Regions from separate parts of the Homo sapiens genome. Here region 2 is linked to region 1. Evidence: promoter capture Hi-C in human tissues and cell types (Jung and others, 2019). All regions are on one chromosome and are shown on one strand. Each heading gives the region's core, a stretch centred on a gene start or on the middle of the fragment in contact. The rest is flanking DNA. Distances are from core to core; before and after follow the strand shown.

Evidence for each region. The method cuts DNA at HindIII sites, captures the fragments that hold promoters and counts their contacts. A contact is called where the count stands out against the background at its distance.
Region 2: a contact is called between a fragment that was not itself captured here and the fragment with the promoter of LGR5 in region 1, in 5 of the 25 tissues and cell types used here (bladder, liver, mesenchymal stem cells and 2 more).

What each region holds. Positions count from the first base shown.
Region 1 is chr12:71,438,279-71,441,074 of GRCh38, reverse strand. LGR5 (leucine rich repeat containing G protein-coupled receptor 5) reads right to left here and starts at 1,277. Exons shown (of 18, transcript NM_003667.4): 1 at 783-1,277. The coding sequence starts at 994. The region is part of intron 2 of LOC124902962 (a long non-coding RNA gene); the gene reads left to right. The HindIII fragment of the contact is 8,401 bases long and covers 1-2,796 here.
Region 2 is chr12:71,513,504-71,516,626 of GRCh38, reverse strand. The region is part of intron 2 of LGR5 (leucine rich repeat containing G protein-coupled receptor 5); the gene reads right to left. Among named protein-coding and RNA genes, the nearest start is that of LGR5, 75 kb to the right of the region's middle. The HindIII fragment of the contact is 4,830 bases long and covers 1-3,123 here.

The sequences.
Region 1 (2,796 bases), core at 28-2,527:
CGCTGTTTACCAGCCCAACAGCCTTCAGCCCACTTCCCCTTTCCTCCCCGGGGGAAGAGATGGTTAAAGATTACACAGCGGCCGCGGGCACTTCAAAGGGCGGCGCGGGCAGCCAAAGGTAAAGATAACGTTCTGGCAGCTCTAATCGGGGTTTGTGGTTGCCACATTTTAATCACGCCGTTAAAAAAGAAAGAAAATAAAAAGAAAGGAGGGAGGGAAGGAAGGAAGAAGGGAGGAAGGAAGGGAGGAAAAGAGGAAAAAACCCCAAAAAGGTTACATCACGTCACAGTGCAAGGGATGCAGACTAAAAACCCTTTGGAGCTGGGCAAGTTGTTTCTCCTTTGGGGAAACTTTCTACAGACCATCTTTTCGTGGAATGCGACTAGACGCAGAGAGGCGGTTGGGGCGGGGACCAGATGGCAGCCTGCCTTTGGGTACCAGGCTCTGGGTCACAAATGTCCACTCCGCACGCAAATGCCTGCATTTGCAGGAATTCGCCCTGCGATGTTTCTAGCGCTGGACTGGGAAGCTGCGGCGCAGCAGCGCTTTCCCGGGTTGCACTCGAAGCCATTTCTCTGCGGGTCCAGAAAGTGCCGGCACGCTACTCCCCGAGACACGTGCATTTCTCTGGGGGCCCTAACAGGCCTGGCCAGGATGCCCTTGACAAACTCGCCCCCCTCCCCCACGAGCAGGCGGGCGCCGAGGAGCCTCCAGCCTCGCCTTGGACGAACCTTCCTTCCCCTCTTAGTCTCTCTCCCGGAGTGACGTGGGGAAGTACTTACAGGTAGGAGGTGAAGACGCTGAGGTTGGAAGGCAGCTCCGAGAGCCCCAGGTCGGAGCAGTCCACCCTGAGCAACATCCTGCCGTCGGGCTCGCAATGACAGTGTGTGGGGCAGCCCCTCAGCAACACACCAGACCTGGGAGAGCTGCCCCCGGTCGCCAGCTGCAGCAGCACAGGCAAGGACAGGAGCACACCGAGCCGGGAGGTGTCCATGGTGCCCGAAGTAGGGGGCCACGAGCCGGACGCGGGCGGAGAGCAGCACCGGACTGCTACGGGCCGTGGCGCGCCGGGCGCCGCTCCGTGGGCTTCTGCAACTCAGCGGGCGTCTGCAGCGCCAGACGCCGCGTTCCTGACCCCACGGCGTGGGCGGCGAGGAGAAGCGCGGCGGGGACAGAGGTGCCGGTTGCCGCCACGCCGGCCTTCGGAGCAGCCCTGGCTGCAGCGGCGACAGTGGCGGTGCGCCTTGCTGCTGCTCGCGGCCTGAGCGGTGTGGAGCAGCATCTCTGCTTGCACGCTCGTTTTTTAAAGCGCTCCAGCCCGAATTGCGCGCCCAGTGACGTCAGCGCAGCCTGGCTTCCCAGGCACCCCCCGCCCGGCCCCACTTTCCCTCCACTTGTCCCCTCCCTCCTTTCCCAAGTCCTGGGCTGGGAGGCAGCAGGCAGCAGGCAGCGCGCGGTACTGGCGAGTTCTCGGCGCTCCCACTGAGCCTCCGCCTGGAAGATTCAGTGCTCAACGCCGCGCGCCGGAATAGGGGACCCCCCCACCCTTACCCCTTCATGCGTGCTGGAGACCCAGATCTAAGAGTCGAGAGGGACCTGCTTCGGAGAGACCTAAACAGACGCACAAGGACTGGAGGATGCGGCACGTTTCCTCCGAGCCCGCTTCAAATAATGGATGAGATACTTGAAGTGATTAAACAGAATAAAACAAAACAAAAACACAAAAACTAAAATCCTATGCAGAGAAATAGTTACGTTATCAGGGTAAGGAGGCAGGCGTCCCCGGCGAATGATAGGTGGCCTTTTTGATCCTTACGTCTGCCGCACTGTCTGGCTCGCTTTTGCCCTAAAATCAAAGCTCTAGGCTAATCGCTAAACAAATACAGCTCCTGAGCGAGCACTCCACTGCTGCCTTCCTATCTCTTGCGGGGTGAGGAAGTCGAAGTGACTCATTTGTTTTTTAAAAGTGGTTTAGAATACCCTAGAAGTCACTTTTAGTAAATCGATGCCAGAGTGACAGATGGCTGTTTGCTAACTTCCAGGGACTTTTCATCTTAAGTGTCCCAGCGCTCTCTGAACTGAGAGCAGTCCCACCTATGTGAGTGACACTGGGCTCTGAGAACCGCTGCAGAGCGCCAGGGGGAAAATGCATGCTCTTGCTTCAAAAAGTGTCCTATAGTGAATCTGCAGGAAAAAGGAGGAAAAGGATTCAGGGCTTTCTTGGAGAGAAGCCCTCGTTGAGGTACAAATAGCCCTCGCCAGACCTGAGTGAGCTGCTGAAAGAGGTGGTATTCCAAGCCTGCCACACCAACTCACAAAAATGCAGTTTTCACTCTGGGGCACAATGCCTCACAGCATCATGAAGGCAGGATACCCTGTTGATTTTCCAAGTCCTTTTTAATCTTCCTGCATTTAGACTGCCCAACAAAATTTCCCAAATAAACGTCTAAATTTTAGAGTTGGGAAGAGCTGTTTCTCTGTGCAGTGTATGTGCCTTCCTTCATGTCCAAACCTCGCTGTTTGTTCACCTAAAATATATAATTTCTTGACCACAATCTGTAGTCTGAACATCTTCCTTTCTTGGGTGAAAAAACAAACAACAAACAAAGCACTTGACAGTGCTAGTGCCACTGAAAATTGTGAGTTAACTCCGGTTTCCGCACAATCAGTACAGAGAGCCCGCGTCTCTGGACACCCTTTTCCTTCACTTTTCCCTATGTATACCACATTCACTGCTACTCTGTGCTTATTCTCACATTATTCTTGCTTCCCTTAGCCATTCTTTCCACATTTAAA
Region 2 (3,123 bases), core at 515-3,014, 75 kb before region 1:
ATTTTGTAGCTTCCTTTTTAAAATGGAGGTATGAGAGCAAAGCAATTGTATATAGGTCTAATTTTTCCTCTCTAAACATAGGGAGAGGTATGTGTACAAGATCTGGGGAGTACTGAGGATGGAAGCGGGCATTTGACCTTGCATTTGAGACCCTTGGGAAATTATTGTGCAGGAAACCATGGTCCGACAGGGGTCCACTTGGCTGAGTAGCATTTTCAGAGTTAAGCGAGGGGGCCTGGCTAGATCTACCAGACCTCCTGGGTCAGTTCTTGCACAAATTTCTTCTTGAGTTCTAATTTAGTTATTTTTTTCTTTCCCTTTTTGATTTTCTTTCTTCTCACCATTAACTTGCTGTGAGACAACACAAGTTACTTAACTTTCCTGGGCCTTATTTCCCTTAAATTAAAAAAAATGAAACGGTTCTTTCATGAAGGTCTTTTTCTACGCTCAAATTTAAAAAAAAATTACACTTGCATTTCCTACTGTTATTTTTTCCTCCCTCATTCTCCTTTTCCTCCCTTTTTCTTCTTGTTTATTGTAAGATTACTTTATTATAACATGTCATTAACATTGTAAAAAGCACTCTCTCATAATTTATATCATAGAGATAGGTCAGGGATTATTATTGTCCACATTTTGTAGATGAAGACACCAAAGCTCCAAAAGGTTTTATGGAAAGTGAAAAACATTGTTGCTTTCCTTATTTATTTAAATGTAGTCTAGTCTTCTTATGGAGCATGGAAGCCATGTAATAGCAGTGCTACTTAAATAATTGGAGTAGAATGAACTTGAACATGATAATTCTTGTGATTTAAAAGAAAACATTTCATCAGACTACTTAGTAAATTCATGCTGGCTCCTAGAAATTGCCGCTTTATTTTCTAACTTTTACAAAGCACACGAGAGTGAGAGGGCATACAGTCTATAAATGTTAAATTAATTTCTTCTAGAAATTTGATGAGGGCTATCAGGCTTAATGGTAATAGTTTTCCCTCTTTTTCCATTCTAAAAATCTGGATGATATTTGCCTATTTCCAGTTTTCTGGTACTGTTTTCCTTCTCTGTGATTTTCCAATATTGATTTCAGCAGTTCTGTGACTATTTCTGAATTTTCCCACTCTTTGGAGTTGTAATTTACCTGAACAATTAACTGCTGTTAAACTATCATTTAAATGTAAAATTTCTGAAAAGTCTTTTATTCTTTTATAAAGTATCAAAATATTCTCATTTGGAAAAATATTGTCCTAAATAAAGTTAGCCAAAACTATGATAATATAATTAGTGACTCTCAAAAGATACATAAGTGATGAAACCAGTATAATAGTCTATTAAAATTGATATTCATGATTCAATTCAATTAATTAATTTGCTTTTGTTGCTTTTAGGGCCAACTACATTTATAGGTTTGGCTTTGGTTTATCAATACAGGAGCCAAGTATCTGAGTCATATCAAGAATTAGAAATATGATGAAACTTATAGTAAGATGTAATTTGCCTCAACTTGCAGTAATGCATGACAGCAGCAATTGACTGAGCCCACCATGGTAGGTTTTCTTTTACAAGGTGCCCCTGCTGGTCAGATGGGACCAGATACGTAAGAGCTTAACCTTCTTGTGTTCATCTTTGGTAAGATTTGCAGAAGCCAATTTAGTGCCTTGGATATAAGAATCATGACATTTCATCAACTAATTTTCTCCCCATTTGAGAAAAAATATCTTTCCTAATACTCCTTGAAAAATTGCAATTTTCAAAAACTGTATCTACCCCCTTCCATTGTTCTAGCCAATGCCTCAAGTGATGCCGTCATTGTGTTAAGCATATCCAATTTGTCAAATCCAGCCAAAAAGCTTTCTTTCTTAAACTGTGTATTCATGAGCTGTGCATTTTGCTTTCATTATTTGATATAATAAAAACATTCAGATTTCAAGGTTCATGGGCTAAGAATTGTTAAGGACTAAGACCACTGGACTGAGTAAATGAACTCTTTCAAGTCAATAAGGAGATACTTTAATGTGCATAGGGCCCTGTGGTTTCTTTTTTTCTTTCTTTTTTTTTTTTTGAGAGGGAGTCTTGCTCTTTCGCCCAGGCTGGAGTGCAGTGGCGCGATCTGGGCTCACTGCAAGCTCCGCCTTCCGGGTTCAAGCCATTCTCCTGCCTCAGCCTCCTGAGTAGCTGGGACTACAGGCGCCCGCCACCACGCCCGGCTAATTTTTTATGTTTTTAGTAGATACGGGGTTTCACTGTGTTAGCCAGGATGGTCTCGATCTCCTGACCTCGTGATCCACCTGCCTCGGCCTCCCAAAGTGCTGGGATTACAGGCGTGAGCCACCGTGCCCTGCCCCTGTGGTTTCTTTAACCAGACTAAGGAAGTTCAATTTTAATTCCTTTATGGAATCTTCCTTAACCATCTCGGTTAACAGCTCTCCTATAAGATACATTCTATACAATGTAGCCTATAATGGTTGATTTTCTACCCTCTACCCTTTCTTTTAAAGGTGTTATTTTTGTTTGTTTGTTTGTTTTTGTTGTTGTTGTTGTTTTTTAAGATCCTGGGCTTAAGTGATCCATCCTCCCAACTCAGCCTCTCTGGTAGCTGGGACTACAGGTACGCACCACTCTGCCTAGCTCATTTGGTACCCTTTTATAAGTAGTCTGATTATAGACTCCTAAGCTCAAGAGTCTTATTGCATGCACAGAGTATGGAGCTCAACTGATATTTATTGATCGTTTGATCTTGTTTCCAAAGGCAGCTGGCCATACTGCCTCAGTTGCTTCAGATCTGGCATAACTATTCCAAGATAGCTAGTCACAAAACCAGACTAGAAACAGCTGAGGAATATTCCTTCTTTGTTACATATCAAACTTAAATTCAGCAATTTCTTAGAGCACTTTCAATATGCCACATATAGTGCTTTTGGACATATAAATAGTAGCTACCATTTATCAAACAGTCCATAAATGCTAGGGCACAATATTCAGTACTTTATGGGCATGATGCTATTTGTTTATAACAATCACATTAAACAATTGGCATCATCTCCATTTACAGATGGCAGAATGGGCCAAAGGGAGGTTATTTGCTCACACTATGTAGAAAAGTTCACAGAAGAAAGTTTGGTTCAA